Linked DNA regions of Homo sapiens: all the other regions are linked to region 1. Evidence: promoter capture Hi-C in 16 types of primary human blood cells and fetal thymus (Javierre and others, 2016). All regions are on one chromosome and are shown on one strand. Each heading gives the region's core, a stretch centred on a gene start or on the middle of the fragment in contact. The rest is flanking DNA. Distances are from core to core; before and after follow the strand shown.

Evidence for each region. Contacts are between HindIII fragments. The CHiCAGO score rates a contact against its expected background, and 5 or more counts as called.
Region 2: a contact is called between a fragment that was not itself captured here and the fragment with the promoter of CTSO in region 1, in 1 of 17 cell types (naive CD8 T cells). The highest score is 7.0, in naive CD8 T cells.
Region 3: a contact is called between a fragment that was not itself captured here and the fragment with the promoter of CTSO in region 1, in 1 of 17 cell types (M1 macrophages). The highest score is 5.6, in M1 macrophages.
Region 4: the fragment with the promoter of GLRB here is called in contact with the fragment with the promoter of CTSO in region 1 in 1 of 17 cell types (erythroblasts); the score reaches 5.8 in erythroblasts.
Region 5: a contact is called between a fragment that was not itself captured here and the fragment with the promoter of CTSO in region 1, in 2 of 17 cell types (M0 macrophages and monocytes). The highest score is 8.9, in M0 macrophages.
Region 6: a contact is called between a fragment that was not itself captured here and the fragment with the promoter of CTSO in region 1, in 1 of 17 cell types (monocytes). The highest score is 6.0, in monocytes.
Region 7: a fragment that was not itself captured here is called in contact with the fragment with the promoter of CTSO in region 1 in 1 of 17 cell types (monocytes); the score reaches 5.8 in monocytes.

Annotation. Positions count from the first base shown.
Region 1 is chr4:155,952,519-155,955,320 of GRCh38, reverse strand. It overlaps CTSO (cathepsin O), which reads left to right and starts at 1,455. Exons shown (of 8, transcript NM_001334.3): 1 at 1,455-1,608. The coding sequence starts at 1,474. RefSeq lists an enhancer at 50-344. The HindIII fragment of the contact is 8,738 bases long and covers 1-2,802 here.
Region 2 is chr4:154,561,410-154,564,211 of GRCh38, reverse strand. It overlaps FGB (fibrinogen beta chain), which reads right to left and starts at 1,201. Exons shown (of 8, transcript NM_005141.5): 1 at 1,080-1,201. The coding sequence starts at 1,193. The HindIII fragment of the contact is 194 bases long and covers 1,352-1,545 here.
Region 3 is chr4:157,218,836-157,221,637 of GRCh38, reverse strand. It overlaps GRIA2 (glutamate ionotropic receptor AMPA type subunit 2), which reads right to left and starts at 910. Exons shown (of 16, transcript NM_001083619.3): 1 at 508-910. The coding sequence starts at 595. The HindIII fragment of the contact is 2,337 bases long and covers 218-2,554 here.
Region 4 is chr4:157,074,747-157,077,548 of GRCh38, reverse strand. GLRB (glycine receptor beta) reads right to left here and starts at 1,399. Exons shown (of 10, transcript NM_000824.5): 1 at 1,252-1,399. The HindIII fragment of the contact is 1,648 bases long and covers 200-1,847 here.
Region 5 is chr4:157,049,669-157,052,470 of GRCh38, reverse strand. No RefSeq gene overlaps it. Among named protein-coding and RNA genes, the nearest start is that of GLRB, 25 kb to the left of the region's middle. The HindIII fragment of the contact is 2,241 bases long and covers 332-2,572 here.
Region 6 is chr4:156,999,743-157,002,544 of GRCh38, reverse strand. No RefSeq gene overlaps it. Among named protein-coding and RNA genes, the nearest start is that of PDGFC, 29 kb to the right of the region's middle. RefSeq lists an enhancer at 2,478-2,802. The HindIII fragment of the contact is 5,247 bases long and covers 1-2,802 here.
Region 7 is chr4:156,963,288-156,966,089 of GRCh38, reverse strand. All of the region lies in intron 1 of PDGFC (platelet derived growth factor C), which reads left to right. Among named protein-coding and RNA genes, the nearest start is that of PDGFC, 7.1 kb to the left of the region's middle. The HindIII fragment of the contact is 3,699 bases long and covers 1-2,802 here.

The DNA.
Region 1 (2,802 bases), core at 206-2,705:
CACTTAGCAGGTACTCAATAAATACTTGATGTGAGCTCCTGAAATGAGTTTAGTTCAAGGGGCTTTTTTACAATACCAATTATCCTAAAGTAAAGATGACTGCCTATATTTAAATTTCCTGACTCCGTAGGTTGTCAATAAACAGGGACTATGATCTGAAAGCAAAGTTCAGTTTAAAAAGAAAAGTATGTGCTTGTATGAGTCACAAAAAAGGGCTAAGTACAAAAGAACTGCTGAGGTAAACATGAACATCGTTCTGTGAACTTATGATTTAAATAAAATCTTTATCACCACACTTGCCAAGAGCAATATATCTTATCATGAACGTACATAAAAAACTCTTGTGTCTTTCCTCTTAATACTCGGAACATTATTTTTATTTTTATTACGAAGTTTGCATTGGAGAATATTGTAACTCACTGCACCTAGGTAAAAACTAAAGACATAAATCTGATGTTAGTTCTAAAAATCTACAAGGGTAATGATATGAATTTCACAGACATGGAAGCCTTGTTCAGAATAGATGATAATAGAAAGGCTCGGTAGAGCCAGGTTCATGAGTGTGTGACCTGTGCAGAAGTGGGTGCTTAGAAGGCCCATGGCTTGGGTTAATGCTCTGCTGTTGCCGTCTTGAAATTCTTCACAATTTATGAACAAGGGAACTTCATTTTCAGTTTACACGGAACCCTGCAAATTATGTACTTGGCTCTATCTTCCTTTGCAAACGGAGAAACAGGCTTCAAGAGTTTTGAAACTGCCATAATAGATCCAAAAACTGTGTATGCTTTTCACATCTGTACAATTTTGTTACGTATTTATAAACATCTGCTGAATGGATGACTCTATGTATTGGCCCACATCACTTCAGAACTAGGTCTTGAACTTAGGGATTGTGGCAAGAAGGAAAAAGGCAGCTTCCGGTGGCTCACAGGGCAGGCCAGGTGGCTCACACCTGTGAGCATTTTGGGAGGCCAAGGCGGGTGGATCACTAGAGTCCAGGAGTTCGAGACCGGCCTGGGCAATATGGCAAGATCCTATCTCTACTAAAAATACAAAAATAGCCTGGGGTGGTGGCACGCGCCTGTAGTCCCAGGTACTCCGGAGGCTGAGGCAGGAGGCACTTGAACCTGAAGGTCGAGGCTGCAGTGAGACCTGATCTCAACACACACAAAAGAATGACTCTCAGGCTTCTTTTTTTCTAATGGATGGAAGTGAAACCTCGAAAGCACATGGTCAAGTGCCTGACTCTTCCAAAACAAAAACAAAAACAAAAAAACTAGCCTCAGCAAGGAGGTCCGTAGCCTCCAGCTGACCGGATTTTCAGTCACAGAACACCGGGGACCTAAAAAAGGGTCAATCTCAGCATCGTGCACTCAACCCAGCTCCTTCCGCCCCTCGAGCCCAGGCTGGGAGGAGCCGAGGAACCGAAAGAGAAAACAGGCCGCGCGGGCGGCAGAGGAGCCGGGCGCCGCAATGGACGTGCGGGCGCTGCCGTGGCTGCCGTGGCTGCTGTGGCTGCTGTGCCGGGGCGGCGGCGATGCGGACTCCCGCGCCCCCTTCACCCCGACCTGGCCGCGGAGCCGCGAGCGTGAAGCCGCCGCCTTCCGGGTACCGAGCGCGCGCCTCCCCGGGATCTGTCCCTGCTCCCTCACTTCCTGTCCCGGGTCTGGGCTGCGGAAGAGGGCCCCCGAGAGCTGACCCTGCTCGTGGGCACCCGTGGCTCTGCGATGCGTCTGGGGCCCTGAGCTGCGGGTGCAAAAGCCAGCTTCTCTCTCCCCTCTCCTTGTGCCATGGTGTCACTCCCCCATGCCTTTGCTAACCAAAAGACTTGATTTTCCAGAAGAGATTTGTCGCTATGGATTTTTGGGACGCACCCAAATAAATCCATAGATACGTCCAAAGTGTCCTTGGTGGGAAGAAGCACCCCCTTTTAGCAATCCCCTCTATCGTTGCCACTGGCTTCCAAAGCTCTTCTATTTCTCTTTTATGAGAACCAGAAACAGGGAGCAGCCTGTTGGTGGAAGAAACCTGTCGTGTTTTTTTTTCCCGAGGAGGGCGCTAGTGATCAGAAGTTAGAAACAAAGAGCCTGTCTTTAGCCAGATTAAAGAATCCTGATGGTTTATGATTCTCCTTAAACTAACGCACCACTTTAAAAGTTCTTCCTGCCTTGGCGGAGACTGAGTTGAAGAAAAGAGAAGCATTTAATTTCCTTTTCATATTATTATACGAAATATAATATAATTTATATTTTATAATATTTATAATAAATACTTAGATTTGAGTCTAGCATGAAAACTCTGGAAGGGACCAGTTAGCTGAGCACAAATAATGATTTTCCTGAAACCAAGGAAACTGCAAGGGATGCCGATTTAGTGTTCGCCTCACTATGTTCTAGATAGCTGATACTATTTAACACATTTTTAAATTCATGAAAGATGCCATTATCATGATTTAATTTATTGGAAAAGAAAATTCTTTCATTCTGAATCAAACATAAGTCTGAGTTGAGTAATATTGCTCAAGGAAGTGTATCTTTTTTCCTGGTGTTTGTTGGAATTTCTCACAGGATTTCATAGCTGTGCTCTTTTCCCCCGACTCTCCTGGAAAGCTCCAATGTTTAGGAAGGCCAGCCTTCCCTGATTCTGTCCACTCTTACGTTTTGTCCAAACCGAGATGTGTACTGTTATCTCCACTTTATTATTCTTGAGTTCAGTTCTAGCTTTCAAAACCAGAAGTCCTCTTACTCTTTCAAGAACAAAATTCTGGCCTGTATTCTACCCCTATCCTCAACTTACGTTCGT
Region 2 (2,802 bases), core at 199-2,698, 1.4 Mb after region 1:
CCATTTTAAAGCCTAAACTATTAAACTATCTCTGTGAGGTTTAGTTGATAAGCAGAAATGTGAAAGTGCTTTGCAGAGTACTTTACAAAAATTTCGTCTTACACATTCTTTACATTTTTCTTACCTAATATGATTAACCAGACTTAACCAGATTAACCATATGTTTTTACACACACAACCAGATTAACTATATGTTCTTACATGTAGAGTCTGATAAGTACAACACTCAAGTTCCCTTGAAACTCAATAATGATCCGAAATGAATCACTTCATTTAAATATTATTGTGTATTCTTATTTCTAGTTTAATGATACTATGCTATATGTAAGAAATTTGGCCATGATACGTTTGATGATAAAATTTAAATTTCTTAAATATCCATTGTCCTAAATGCATTTCTGTATTTTTAGTAACTGCAAATTAACAGCAATAAGTCAGCAAAAATAATAGTTGAGGACAAACTGTTCTACAAATAAATAAATTAGACTGAACCGTGTTTCATAACTATTAATAATAACAATACACACTAACTCTAATTTGAACTTTTCATCTGAAAAAAGCAATATTTCATTTTCTATCATTACACTTGATGTATTTTGCTTTTAGGCTTAGTTATAATTTTTATAAATAGTAATCTCAGTAACAATATATATTACCTTCCTTCACCAAAGAACAATCTACCTACCACCAGTTTCTTTTATCTTAAAATTCTGCTCTTTTATTATTTTATAGTTTGTGAGATTTTCAGATCTTGTCCTCTTAATTGTAATCCTGTATTGCTAGAAGTAAATGAAAATCACAGTACTCAGAATAGCAAGTGAGAAAAACACATCTTACATTAGCTAAGCCATCCTCATCTTAAGAAAACAAAGGTGATAAACTAGAAAACAAGAAATTACTTTGTTTTTATATAAGAAATACTATGAAACATTCTTTAAATACAATAAGTCAGAGGTTAACAATTCCATTTCATAACTATAAGCAATGCTAATTTCATTAAAATAAGCACATAATATGATTATGTTACATCTTATATTAATAATACTACTAATAATATAATAATGCTTTAAAAAATTCACCTCCTCATTGTCGTTGACACCTTGGGACTTAACTAGAAAAACACACAATAGTAGCAATAATAGATGTTTCATGGTTTTAAGTTTGTGGAAGCTCCAAGAAACCATCCTTTTCATGTAGACTTAACTGAGAGATCTTCAATCCTATATATATCTGAGTCCTCTGCTAGGAATGACTTCAGAAATGGTTACCTTTCCTTAGTTAATATTTAATTTTTGGTTCACTTGTTGGCTGAACCATTTTATCATTTAAGCAACATCTTCCCAGCAAAGCTTATTTACTTGTCATACAACTATTATTCTTTGTTGGTCTAGTTTAGAAACATTAAATTTCTTCAATTCATTTAATTGGACAAAATGATGGGAAGTTAGGGCACTCCTCAAAGAGAGATGTGTATCTTGTTTCTGGTAAATTAATGTGGAAACTACACAAGCTCCGAAAGAATATGTGAGAAAACAAATCTAAGCTTAGTAAATTTGACCTACTCACAAGGCAACCACTAAAATCGTGACTCATTAATGATATACCATAAATGCTTATGTTTTCTGACAATGACATAATTCTATTTCAAAAGGGGCCATTAAAATCAATAGTAATGTTATATCATAATGTGTTTATCTTTTGTTTTAGACATTAATCAAAATAACAAAATAACAAATTCATACCCTATTCTATGAAAAATACACATCAGAAAGACCCTTTTTTTGTGCTGAATAGCTTTAATATTTTGTCCTTAATTCACATAAGGTAAAATGTTCAACAAATTCTAAACATTATTAAGATAACTAATAAATTATAGATTTCTGAATCAAAATTATGATGATGATTAAATACATGTTTAACATTCTATTTTATTGTTATATAGTTTATATCATATGATTTATAAAAACAATGTTATTTTAACACTGGTGAAGTCTTCATACATCTATTTCAATTAGTATGCTCACAGACTAAATGAGGCCCATTTTCCTTCATTTCCCACAAGCCACAAAATTTATCTCTCTTGTCTGTTCACTTGTGTGTTGCAATCAGGATTAATAACTCCTACAAGAATCAATAGGAACACCAGTCAGTAATCCAAATCCCAGTAAGTGCATTGATTCAAAGCATTTTTCTGTTTTTTGTATGGAAAGTGAAACATTCTCATTAAATTTATAAATTATTTTATTAAAAAGATGGCAGGTTATCAGGGTTTGGATCAGCGTATTGAAACAATGCTTTGAAACAGAGTCTTGAGAATGGTGTGGGACCCACGACATTTCTTTCTTCTCCAGGTAGCAGAGATTGCATTCCCAAATTCTTTTAACTCAGATTCCTAGAAACAAATTATTCTCTTGGTAGCATAGGTTGTCCTCCCAAATTCTTTTAACTTAGCTTAATAGAGACAAAGTACTCAGTTTAAATTAAGAAAAAATATTCACTTGAGTCTTTCCAAATTTGTGTTCCCTTTATTAGCAATGAGTAAATATTATATTTTAAGATTTTTTTCTTTAGCTTTAATGGTTTTTAAAGGGATACATGATCTGACAGAAAAAGCAAATATCTATGTGGCTATTAATTAAAATATATACAGGAATATTTTCCATGAAAATATAACTGATAACAAAGTTTATTTTAATAATCTAGACAGGATTTTATTTTAGTGACGTACAGATTCTTACAGATTTAAAAAGAATTATCTGTTAAGAAAACTCTAACCTTTTTTTTTTCTTTTGAGGTAACGTA
Region 3 (2,802 bases), core at 137-2,636, 1.3 Mb before region 1:
CAGTGTCAGTGCCCCGGGAGGGAAAGGAGGGGCGCGCGCTAGCGCCCAAAAATCCAAGAGTCTCTTATTCACGCGAATAGGCCGAATAAACACACCTACGGACTCGGACAGCGGGGGTGGAATATCCAAAAGCTAGCCAAGGGGTCAAGACCCAGATGAGAGTCTGAAGGCGAGGTAGGCGGCCAGAAACCTTCACCTTTCCATGTAATCACAAGCTTTGCATTCAGACCCCAAGAAAATCTGAGCAAACTGGAAAATGTCGCTAAGGCAGAATTAATAAAATTTGGGGATCCGAAATGAGAGGACCTTTTCTTCTATTGTATCAAAGGCATAGTCTTTTCCTTTTGCTTCATCCTAAGAAAAACATGTATATTCTAGGTAGTTTAAATCTGGAATGCAGTCAAGGTATGACATAAGTCTACATGACATGAATTAATTTGTACACTGTGAACAAAGATTACCACCAAATTATGCACAATTCAAAAGCATAGCACAAAGGGTACCTACCTATCTGTATGCTGTTAGAAGAGACACCAAAAATCAGTCCCCATAAAACAGGAGAAAGGAGGACAGAAATATGCATAATCTTTTGCATTTCCAAGAAAAGTAGAGCATCCACAATATACCCCTTTTTTTTTCCTTTTCCTCCTCTTCCTTCTTTGGCTGTTTTCCTCTGCAAATTAGATCCTCTGCATTTTGAGACAGCAATTTAGCACCAAGCTGCTAAAACCTGAAGTGGAGGCAGAAGAATCCCTATTTCCCAGGTCCTGCTGGTGGCTGCTGATGCCCTGCGCCCTGTCCCCGCTCCAGAAGTCCGGAGGACTGGCTGAATGCAGTTTTCAGCGGAGCTGCCGCTGTGGTCCCAGTGTCTCGGAATATTCAGCACCCTCCCATGCACTCACACACACTCACCCTCTCTCGCGCTCTCTTCTCCCTCTCTCCTCTCTCACTCACGCGCGCGCGCACACACACACACACACACACATACACACACGCACACACACAGGCAAGTCACAGAGAGGGGCAGGCAGTCCCGGGCGCGCGTGCGCGACTCGCGGCAGGAGGCGGGAGCGCGCGCCCCCTCCCCCGCACGGCGCCCGGCACCCCGCACCACCGTGGACGCGTCGCGTGCGCGGCGCTGAGAAAGCACAGCTCGGGGCCCGTAGCCGCTGTCCCTCCGCGAGACCTCGGGTCTCCGGGGCTGTCGCGCCCACCGCGCGCCTCGGCCTTTCAGCACCGAGGACAGCGCCTCGCTCCCCGCCCGGAGCTACCTTCGTGCGGCTGTTGCAGCTGCTGCGGAGATGCTCCAACCTGGACCAAATGCAGCAAAGCTGATCTCCGGCTGCTGTGTAGAAGCCGAATTGCTAATTGTTGGCGGCGAAGCGTCCTCTCACCAGGCCCTGCTGTCTTACGTTACAAATAATTTTGATTTTTATCTTCCATCTCCTGTGAAAACCCATTTAGCAATACAGAAGCCCTGTCATCCTCCTCACCTGACCCAGCCGAAAGCAAACAAGCAAGCAAAGCACCGTGGAGGAAATATTCCAAAATTGTGCACTTGGGCTTCATGGGATGTAGCCAGGATCCAGGGAGAACCCCAAGTTATATCTTTAAATGCTTAAGCCGCACAAGAGATCAAGATGGAATCTTTTAAATATTTTGCATGAAAATCCCATCTTTAGAGTATATTCCATTGGGCTGTGATGCTGACTCGCCTAGTTACAGAGCGCACGGGTCTTTCTCGCAGCTTTCACTGCAATCCCTCCCTTGTAGAGTCATGTAGACTTGGTTTCCTAGAAGCCCTTGCTTTATGCAGATTGAAAGCAAGAGACTCTGGTTTAAGGAAAGGCTATTAGAGGAAAGTGATTAGAAGATGAAGCTAGTGTAGGAATGCCACAGAGATGCAGATTCTTTCCCAGAGACTTACTTAGAAATCTGTTTCCCCATCGCGTTTTGGCCGGGGGTTTCGAAAAATCACTGCCTAAAGAAAGTAAGCCACCACGCTCTACTGAACACGCGGGCCACAGGGAAAGAAAGATGAGGTTAGATATTAAAAGTTTGAAGGGAGAGAATTGATGGCGAGATGGATGACTGGACTTCCCGTGTGAAATTTATGTTCTTCATGGTGCTTTTTCCAAGCTCATTCCTGGAAACCTGCTCTGACAATTCCCTCTGCGGACTCAGAAAAGCCCCACCAAGTTGCATGTCTTTACTGGTTTAAACAAATAAAGAAAGATTGAGAACAAGGAACTGTTTCCAGGAAGAGGGAGATTGGAGCTTACAGTACTAAAAAGAGAACTGCTAGTATTCCAAAATGCCATGAGTCTATCAGGCTGCCTTCTTGTGCTTGCAGCTTCATTGCTGACTGGATTATCTTATGCTTGCTTCTTAATCACATTGGCCTCAATTTCCCCATTTTAAAAATGATGATGAGCAAAGTGGCTTCTATGGCTCTTGGATCCTATATTGCTGTCATTTCAAATTATAACCTTTCCCTCTTTTTGATGTAGTCCTAAACCATGAAGTGAGAATAGCTGTAATCTATTATTAAGCTTATAAACTATAGACTAAAATATCTCTTAATTTTATGCCTTAGAATTTTATTAGTATGTTATAAGTACTCCACACTGTATATAAAGCAGGTCTTCTAAATAAAAATGTATTTAACCTTTAAAAAATTGAATAATAAAAATAATATATAAAATTAATTAAAATTACAATAAATCGATAAAAAATAAAAAATGAGATATAACTTACATATATTCAAAATTGCAACATAAAGAATAAATAAATCATACATAT
Region 4 (2,802 bases), core at 150-2,649, 1.1 Mb before region 1:
AGTTCTTATGTATATTTTTTCAAAAATAATGTATTTTAAAGAAAAAGAAATTCTAAGTATTAAAAAAGACAGATAAAAGAAAAAGTTAATATCAAAGAGTTCCACATTCAAAATTCATTGCTTTTTTTATTTAAACACATTACATTGGCAAGCTACCTTTTTGCCCCAAAAAGGTGCCTCTTAAGTTAGCTTTAAAGCTTTCTTACTTATTTGCTACTAACATTTGTCATCAAAAAGATTACTTCAGAAATTCTACAACAAGAAATAAAACAAGTGTTGTTACATTTTTTTCAAATTATCGTCCTAGCCATATTTTAATAACATTTTCATGCTCAAATCAGAACCATATTCTTGCCAGAGATTCTGATAAATAAAAAATAATTAAGCCTCTACCTACACTAGAGAAGTTCAAACTCTTCTGCAACCTTCATTTCCAAACCATAAATTGTTTCTCTTTCATTGTTTTCCGCAGAGTAAAAGACCTGTCATATTCTTCAACGCTAACTTAATTCCCATCTCACCCTCAGAAATTTGCTTCTCCTTATGTCATGTTTTTCATCTTCCCCCCCCCCCCCCAGGATTCTTCCCCCCATATTTATCTTTTACACACACTCCAGGCAAGCCAGAGGGGCTTCTCCCTGGGTACTTTAAATTGAAGACAACAGAGGGGGCTCATCAGACCAACAGCAACAACACAAGGTTCTCCTCTGGCAACTTCACAACATTGGACGCTCCCTTCCCCCATCCGACAGCGGCACCTGCTTCCAGACACCTTGCCCACAGCAGCAGGTACTTCTCCCACTTTCACATCCTTGCCCCCGCAAAAAGGAGGGCCGAGCCCCCCTAACGCTTCGAAAAACAGAGAAATTCACCACTCTGCTCTGTCCTCACCCCCAATCTTTCAAGGGGGACAGCTGCATTGACTGGAGGATCCTCATAAACAAAACAACGCAAGGAGCCCTCCTGGCCAACCTTGCGTTTCCTAATTACCCCGGCCCTCTGCATCTCTCCACCCGGAGCGTCTCCGCGGGCGCCACCGCAGCGGGGACCCGGCTGCCGCTGCCAGGCGCCCCGCGCCCCTCTCCCGCGCAGGGCAGCGCGCGTCCTCCCGGGCACGCCGCAGTGCTCCTCGCGCTCCGCCGCCCCGGGCTTGACCCGCTGTTTCCGCAAAGGCGTCTATTCCCGTCCTCAGACCACCGTCGCCGCCCCAACCCGCGTCCCCTCCTCCTAAGTGGAGCTCCTGGCACTTACCCGGAGGCGCCCCTGCCCACAATCGCCGGGCGAGATCGTGGAGGCTCCGGGCCCAGGTGGCAGTGGCTGCTAAGGGTGCAGCGGGCGCCGAGCGGGGGCAGCTGCGTCCCAGCCGCCCGCGCCACCGCCGAGCTCGGCTGACGCGCCTGCTCGGGCCGCGGAGCCTGCGCCGTGGCGCGCCGCGGTCGGGGCCGCAGCGGGGACAGCGCGGGCCGCGGGGGAACCTGGCGACCGCGGGCGGGGGAGGGAAGAGGTGTCCCGACAGAGCAACGTCACGGCATCGTCCCCTTCAGGCATTGGAGGGGTTACCGAGCAGAAATGTGTACCCCCCTCACTCCTTAGGGGACTAAAGGAGTTGGGGACGAAGGGCGGGAATGATAGTGTCGGTACAAAAAGAAAAAACCTTTCAAGGAGCTGGGATTGCTTGGGGTCAGCTTTTGACCACTAGCAACAAACAACAGAGCAACAAATGACCTTCTTGGGTCAAAGCGAACAAAACACATTTTCTGTCATTTCACCATTTGCCTGGAACCCAGACATCCAGCTTAATCTCCGGGTCTTCCAATTTCTAAAAGCCTGAACTTTCTGAGCAAGCTTAAATTGGTCAAAATTACTGACAATATAGTCATACAGGTAATACTATGTTTAACATCTGTTACATAATTAACATGTGTACAGAACTTGACAGTTGCAAAACACCTTTCACTCGCCTTATCTCATGTGGCCCTCACCACATTCCTGGGCAAGTTTTGTCATCCCCTTCTGTAGATGAAGAATCTGAAACTCAGTTATATTAAGAGATTTACTTAGAGTTACAGATCTTGAAAGAAATTTACCAGAGATTCAAAATTAGTGATTTTTGCATATCTGAACCAGACAGGGTCTCTGCCTTATAAGAGCAAAATACTGTTGTCCTCATCCTTGTGAAGAAGTAGCCCTTACTTGGATATGCAGCCCTTAGATAACAGATAAGGCTATCCTATTACCTCTTGAATGTATGCCTGATTGATTTTTTTTAATTGTTATTTTTTAAGCAACAGGAGCTCACTTTGTTGCCCAGGCTGGAGTGCAGAGGCACAGTCATCGCTCACCGCAGTCTTGAACTTCTGGGCAATCAAGAGATCCTCTTGTCTCGGTCTCCCTAGTAGAGTAGCTGGAACAACAGACAGGCCATTGCGCTCCACTAATTATTATTATTATTTTTTAAGAGACAGCATCTCTGGCTTTGTTGTCCAGGATGGTCTCCAACTCTGGCCTGAAGCCATCCGCCTGCCTTAGCCTCCCAAGCTGGGGGGCTTACAGGCTTGAGCCACCCCACCCCACTGCACCAGGTCCTGATGGATTTTTTTTATTAAAAAAGCATTGTCTCAAGTGAGCATCACTTAGCATTGTATTGTGGACCCACAGATGTATCCACTAATAAATTTTTCCACCCGCAGCATATGGAGGGAAGGAATATTTCCTGCATATAACCGTGTTCCATAAGCTTCATGAGATATTCTGCTGCCTAAGAGTAGTGATCATTAATAAGTGATCATTACCTTATTTACA
Region 5 (2,802 bases), core at 203-2,702, 1.1 Mb before region 1:
CATCTTGTCCTTGGCGGGTCCAGTTTGGTGTTGTTCATTCCCATTTCGTTTTCTTCTGTCTTCCTCTAGTATTTGTTTGGCTGACCTTAGGCCCAGCCTCAGGTGCTGAAGTAATCGCTGTCTAGCAGCTGCTTAATATAGAAAGCGAATTGCCTATAATAAATCCTATGGTTTAAAATGTTCCCTGTGGCTCTGCTCCTCTGATTAAACTCCAATACAGAAGATTAGTATGTTCTGTGGATGAGAAGAGTAAGGGCATCTTTGGTGACCAGAGGGCAGACTGTCAGATTCCAGAAACACACCCACCAGAGCACATAGGGAGGGAGAAGCTTTTGTCAAAGAACACGGTGTAACAAAAAGGAGGACAGCATGGCTATAAATGGCAGGTTGAATGGAGAGATGAAAATGCTACCTTATCCTTTAGATAGGAGGCATGATTATCTGGTAAGGTAGGAGGCCGGGAGAAGGAAAGTGGGGCTTTTCAGAATAGAGGAGGTATATGAAATAGCTGCTGCACACTGGTTACTTGACTAGAGTATCTACAGAATAATAATACCAAAAGTTTATTGAAGGGATATTGCAGCCATTGTATAGGCATTTTCTATACAAGAACACATTCAATCCTCACTAAACCCTTACAGGTGTGCCATTGTTATTTTATTTTTATAGATGAAAAAACTGAGGCACAGAGAAAATAAGTACCTAGCCCAATGTAATATTTTCAAAAAACTAGCCAATATTCCAAAAAATATCTTATGCTAGAAAACTATAATTCTTGGCACATAAATTTCCAATGGACTATTAGATATTTTCATTCCCATTTTACAGGTAGGCATAATGAGGCCCAAGGAAGTTTACTACTGTGCCCAGGTTATATACCAAAAATGCTAAATTAAGATTTGTTATGAGTGATAATAACACTGGCAACCAGAACCCTAAGGATTTATAGTTTTAGACTATTCATAATATATATAATGAATATTTTATTTATGTATATGTACAAATACATACATACACATTTATATAACACCTATGTATTACATTACATTAATACATTAATATGTGTTACAGATAAAAATCAGAGGCTAAGAGTATATAAAGTGACATCTTAAGTAAACTTGGAAATTGAGGGATATGATTGTTAATTTTATGTGTCAACTTAGGGGCTAAGAGAAACGTGTCTTTTTCTTTTTTTTTTTTTTTTTTTTTTTTTTTTGAGATGGAGTCTCACTCTGTCTCCCAGGCTGGAGTGCAATGGTGCGATCTTGGCTTACTGCAACCTCTGCCTCCCAGGTTCAAGCGATTCTCCTGCTTCAGCCTCCTGAGTAGCTGGGACTACAGGCCCGTGCCACAATGCCCGGCTAATTTTTTGTATTTTTAGTAGAGACTGGGTTTCACCGTGTTAGCCAGGATGGTCTCGATTTCCTGACCTCATGATCCGCCCGCTTCGGTCTCCCAAAGTGCCAGGATTACAGGCATGAGCCACCGCTCCCATCTGGGAAATGTGTCTTTTTTTGTCGAGATTAATCACTAACCTGTGTAGTGTGAAATGGGCCCTGTGTAGTTAACTTTCCACCCAGTGACTTGTAGATGTCTTCAGTGAAAGATAACATAGGGGGATGAGTGTTAGTGATATGGTTGAATGTGTGTCCCGCCCAAATCTCATATTGAATTGTAATCCCCAGCTTTGGAGGTGATGCCTGGTGGGAGGTAATTAGATCATGGGGGCAGGTTTTCATGAATGGTTTAGCACTATCCCCTCGGTACTGTTCTTGTGACAGTGAGTGAGTGAGTTATCATGAGACTCCTGTTGCTTGGAAATTGTGTGGCACCTCCCCGCTCTATCTCTTAGTCCTGCTCCTGCCATGTAAGATGCCTGCTCCTGCTTTGCCTTCTGCCATGAGTAAAAGCTCCCTGAGGCCTCCCCAAAGGAAATGCTGCCATGCATCCTGCACAGCCTGTGGAATTATGAGCCAATTAAACCTCTTTTCTCTATAAATTACCCAGTCTCAGGTATTTCTTCAGAGCAGTGTGAGAAGGAACTAATACAGCTGGTTTCTGCTCTGGCAGACTAAAAATTTGGTAGTAAGAGTAGATGGTTTGGCCTTGGTAAGTGGCAGCCCATGCTCTGGGGCTCATGCATTTTCCCTATCTCTTGTACCATGACTATTCCATCATATATCCATATGTCAGCATTGGATTGGTGGGTACAGCAGCTGGCCGACATCAACTGGCTGAGTGACTTTGTCTAGCTTGATAAGTGACTCTTTCTTTCTAGATGTTCTTTGGTGATCATTAACATGTAATACAGAGATTTTCACATGTTGTAACCACTCTCACATGTCCATCCAAATGCTCCTGCTCAAGAATTCCGTATCTCAAATCTTTCAATCTTACCACTCCCAGCTCCCAGCAGGGAGACAAGCCATTTGCCACTGACCATGAATCCATATATTTCTAATTTAGAGCCATTTATCTTTTTACACAAAGTTAATTACCAGGTACTTGCCAAAAACTCTTTCCACTGAAAAATTTTCCCACATACCAGGCTGTCCCACACTGGAATCAAGCTTGCCTTTTTCTCCTCCCATTTGGCCATAAGTATGAGCTGAGAGAGACACACTGTGCAGCAGTGGTAGATGGCATGGGGATCTGAGCTGCATCGTTGGGCAACTAGCTTGTGCCTTTCATTCCTGCTCATGCTTACTCCCCAGATGCACCACTCCCATCTCACAGTGGATTGTTTCTAAGGTCATTTGACATCCTTACATGGCAGAACTGATAGAACTCAGCTTATGAAGG
Region 6 (2,802 bases), core at 185-2,684, 1.0 Mb before region 1:
AGAAGGTGATATTATTTGGAGACAGTTTTTGCAGATAGTGAAGAATCAAGAGGAACTCAAACTGGATTAGGGTGAGTCTTAAAAATCCGATGACTGGTGTCCTTATAAGAAGTGGATGCGCAGAGATACAGAAGAGAAACACAAAGAAGAAGGCCATGTGAAGATAGAGACAGAGATTGATGATGCTGCTACAAACCAAGGGAGCCAAAGATTGCAGGAGTCACCAACAGCTAGGAAGAGGCTAGTAAAGGTTCTTCCCTAGAGCTTTCAGAGGAAGCATGTCCCTGCTGACACCAGGACTTGGGATTTCTAGACTTCAGACCAGTTAGAGAATAAATTTATGTTGTTTTAGGCTACCAGTTATGGTAATTGGTTATAGCAGCCCTAGGAAGCTAATAGAGATTTTTACCTACATTGGAAAAGTTGGAATCATCTTTCATTATTTTCTCTCCCTTCTCTACTCCTATCCCTTCTTGCTCCATAGCCAAAAGAAAAAAAAATTGCTGTCAAGTCACATAAATTTTACTTTCTAGTGGTCTTCTTATCTAAGTCTCTGTGCTTTCCAATCTAACCTTCATAGCTATGTTAGATTAAATCACAGAATTGTTCTTATTATGTAAATAACATTTTTTAAAAATTCTAATAGTTATGTTTTAAGAATTAAATACAAATTAATTAACTTGACAATTAAGACCCTTGAATGACTGAGCAATATTTCCAGTTATTCTAATCTAGAATCCATACTTTTTGTTTCCTTCTCCTTGAGTACTCTGTATCTTGTTATAATTTGTGAAAATCCAATTTTCTCATTGAGTCGTTTCTGATTATTCTAACCTAACATATTAACTCATTTTTAAAAATCCAATAGCTTTTTTGCCTTTAAATGAGGTATGCTTTGTCTTTAATATATTTGTATGTATCTTCCCCTTGTTCTGTTCAACTAAAATATAATTTATCTACAAAAATCTGTATTTTTTACTTATTTTGTATGTTATGCATATAGCAGACTTATGAATTAAGTTGGTATTTTTTCAGTGAACTTGAATTTGTTAACTAATTTGAAACTGGTAAATCCAGAGACCATGAAATATTGAAAACTTGAAAGAGAAGATACAATTAGCAAACTATTGATCATTTAAGATATGCCACAGAAGGGCAAACTTTCAACACCTCCTCTTTTTTACATAAGACTAACCTCAGTGTTTATTGGCATATTATATTAAACCTTATAATACAAAGAAACTTTTTAAAGCTGTATGGCAATTTTACAACTATCAAGTATTGGGTTATATATTTATCATTATCCTGTGAATTTTAAAGACTAGTATCTAGAGCAAGGAAATGTAGGAAAGATACCTGTGCTTCAGTGGAGAACTTTGCATTATCTAGACTCCAGCCACTCTTCTGGTTATCTGACTCCTCCCACCACAATGAAAAACAAAAACAAGACAGCAGTTTTGTCTATAACTGTGCCTTCTTTTCAATATTTCTGTTCTATAAATCTATCTCTTCTTTAGATTTTTTTTGAAACAGTAAAAATGCCTGCCTGATGTCCTTATTGATTATATGAAATCTTTAACATGTATTCATTTTTATATCTACAGGAGTCATGATTTTACTCTTGTTTTGAAGTTAACTTTTAACAGAAGTGGTTTTCTGTTTCATTCTTTCTGGCATTATTAGAAATCCTGTCTACCATGATAGCATTGGGAGATATACCTAATGCTAGATGACGAGTTGGTGGGTGCAGCGCACCAGCATGGCACATGTATACATATGTAACTAACCTGCACAATGTGCACATGTACCCTAAAACTTTAATAAAAAAAAAGAAAAAAAAAGAAAATAACATTCTTAGATATTAAAAAAAAAAAAAAAGAAATCCTGTCTACCATACATACCATAAGTAGAATGTTGGAAAAACTGGAAAATAATAACAGAAGGGTCACCAAAATAGTAAGAAAACTTCAAAACCTGTCATACATTGAAAAATTGAAAAAATTTGAGGGAAATTTAGTTTAAAGAAGAATAGTCTAAATGGGAAATGACCATTGTTCTCAAAAAACCTATAGGGCTACCATATGGATAAGTGAGTTTTCCGATTCAATCTTTTATCTGACTTTCAAGAAACTCCGATACTAGACTCTGACACTTCCATGGAAGAGGCAATCACCAGTGACTTCACTCACCCCTAAACCCTAAGGAACACAAACTCCCAAGTACTTGGTCCTTGTGTTCAGAGAGAAGGTCTGAGTTTTCGCAGCTTAGCAAACTCAGGAAAAGTGAGCTTTATGACTGCAATTTTTGCTCTGATTTCCAAGTAACTCCAGTCCTAGACACTGACTCTTCCAGAAAGTCAAACCAAGCTCAGGTCAAGTTTTATGAGTTTTTAGATGATAAATTTGAAAAATTGTGTGAAATTCACATATAGGTAAATTTTGACTCGATGTAAATTCAAACTTTTCAACACTTAGAACTATACAGAAATGGTTTGGTCAGCTTTGTGATATAAGGATTTATTTGTCTCTAAGGGGTATTCAAGCCAAGTTGGAAAAAATCTTATTAAAGCTCTTTTACTATTGATTAAATTATTGCCTGTAGAATTGGACCAGATGCCCTATGGAGAATTTTAACCCAGAGTTACTAATTTCATGATTAAAGTACACCTTGGTTTTTGTATGTGCATTTAAGCTCTGGGATCACCAACACCATCCTAAATATGCTCTCCTAAAGTTACTGTAACTCACCTATTGTGAAGTACATGTTAAGGTGAGACTTCTCCCATAGTCTAGGAGTTTTGTC
Region 7 (2,802 bases), core at 106-2,605, 1.0 Mb before region 1:
TAGTTCCATACTGATTACCAAAATGTTGAAATGTTGAAATATTTCCAATGAGTTGGGAAGAGACTAGTGCAACTCCTCTAAGACAAATGGACCAACACGTGATGAAGCAGAAATTCCAATGCCTGGTACTGCTTAAGGCCTCTGAGATACTTCTGCAACCCTGCTGGCCTCTGTCCTGATCGATCAGTGTTCCTGCCGTACTGATTGTTAAGCATTTTGACACTTTTAGCTGTGGACAATTTTAGTTCATATTGGGGTTAAAATTTCTATCTTTTTTCCTCTCTGCTTGGCAGCTCAGGCCTGACCCATGACTTGAAGGACCTGGAGTAAGAAGGGGTATGGCTTCTTTCAAGCTCCCTTCCTGCAGCTCTTTTGGCTTTAGCTCCTCAAGGGTTATGGCTGGGGGAGTGATGAGATGGTGGACATGGCACACTCAGCATACAATTGCAACTTCCAGTCATTTGCCCCTGCCTCTCTGGCTAACACTAACCAGCTGCTCTTGCATGGATAACACCTTCCCTTCATCTAGATTAAATGATTCACTTCCTCAGAGAGGTCTTTTTTCTGACCACTAAGTCTAAATTAACCACCCCTCACTGTCTTGTCAAGGTTAATTAATTAATTATGTAGTACTTAATACTCCTTGATATTCTTGTTTATTAATTAATTAATTTATTATCTACCAACATCCCTCACCCCCACCATAAAATCTAAGTTGTTGAGAGCGTGGACCTTGTTTGAATCGCTTCCTGTAGGAACTCCAGCACCTGAGACAGGTATGGCAGAGTGTGCCCGATGAGTATCTGTTGAAAGGTTCTGGAGGTAGTTAGTATCTTATTAAAGAAAGACTATGCTGTTAACTCTAACAACAGGCCATCTTTTAAGATATCTTTTTGGTCTTGGAGCTTGCACACTACTTGACTTCTTAAATAGGAAGATAGCTTGTTCATGTATTGGTAGTGATGGTTGTGCCAATCAGAGTACCACGTTTTACTCTTGATAAAGATTATGTTACCAAGTGAGCAGGTACCAGGCAAATGGATAGGTTTCCTAGAACTGGTTACTCTTTTAAGTGTCATTGCTGTGCATAGCCTTACATTTTCTGAAGATGGGGACTGTCATGTGATGCAGACCAAGGACTCTTGAAAATGTTGCATAGATGACAAGCCTCCAAAATCTGTGTACTTTCTATATTTTACCTGTGGCTCAAGGATAACTTGCACAGGCTAGAACTCAGCAACATGTGTGGTATGAGGAATGTTAGAGTTGGAAAGACCCCAGGAACTTATCCTCACTGATGTGCAGATTGAGGCCTAGAGAGCAGAAGTTGACTTGACTTTGTCAAGGCCACTAGACAGCCACTATTAAACTGCTAATGTGGTGATACATTTTTCCTTATGTGAGAACCAATTAGGAAAATGGAATCCTGGTTTCAAAATTCACATACTTTTTATAAAAGCATTTCTTTATTATGTTAGTGGATTGCATGGTTTTCAGATTGGGAGATGAGGTAAGAATCTGTTGCTTCGGAAATATTTACGGGAACAGTAAGGGAAACAATCTCATAATAATCACATTAGTCAAATGGAATGGTATATATATATCACTATATATATACTGTATATATATGTACTATATATACAGTATATATAGTATCACTATATATATACTGTTATATATATATCACTATATATATATATAGTGATAACTTCTGTTTCTGTAGGCATCTGACAAATTGGCAAATAACTGGAAATACTACCTTTATAATGGTTACCATTATGTTAGAACTGTACTTTAAGCAAGTATATAGATGAAGGATGTTTATTTTAATATTTTGGCTTATTCAGTGATGGTGATGAATAATATGGCTGACATTGGCATGCTTGGTTCCACAAGGAAACTTTCTGGTAATAATTTTAACATTTCATTTAACAGTACATCTCAATGATAAAAGTACCATAAAAATGAATAAATAAGCATGTTTAGTGAACGCTAGAAAGTATAACCTATTATTTTTGAAATATATTCAGTGAGTGACCTTAACTTTTATTTACACTATATTCTATGGGATATTCTATTCAGAAGTTCAAGTTTTTTTTTTTTTTTTTGGTCAAGACCGTCAGAAAATAAATTCATAGCTATAAACTTGAATGGCTTGCCTAAAATATTATTAATTTACCTTTTTAAACTTTGGTTTGCAAAGTTCCCAAATCTGAAAACAAAGGGAGCTAAAAATTATAAAGGGGAACTATAATAACTACGTTTATAATTAAAGCCAAGTTGTTATAAGTGATACTTTTGGTAGCATTCGCTAATTTTGCCTTTTACCTCATGGGAATGCATTTTAAATTTAGTTTTGTTAATTTTATTTGTCATCAGATTTCTCGTTAGAATTCATGTGCCACCTTCAAGCCACTTTTTATCATCCCCTAGTGACTGAGTAGGCTCCTCCCTGGACGGTTATTTGCCCTGTTTCCACACCAGACTATCTTTGCCAGGCTGGCTTCACTAAATTTGCTCTCTTGCTATTCCACTTAATTCCTCTTTTATTTTCAGACTGTGATTTTTTTTTTGTACTTAGCTTTTTCCCTTTTGTATTTGTTTTGTTTTGTTTTATTTTTGAGACATGGTTTCACTGTCACCCAGGCTGGAGTGCAGTGGTATGATCACAGCTCACTGCAGCCTTAACTTCCCCAGGCTCAGGTGATGTTCCCTTTTCAGCCTTCCAAGTAGCTGGGATTACAGGTGTGTGCCACCACTCCCTGCTAATATTTGTATTTATTTTTAGAGATGGGGGTCTTA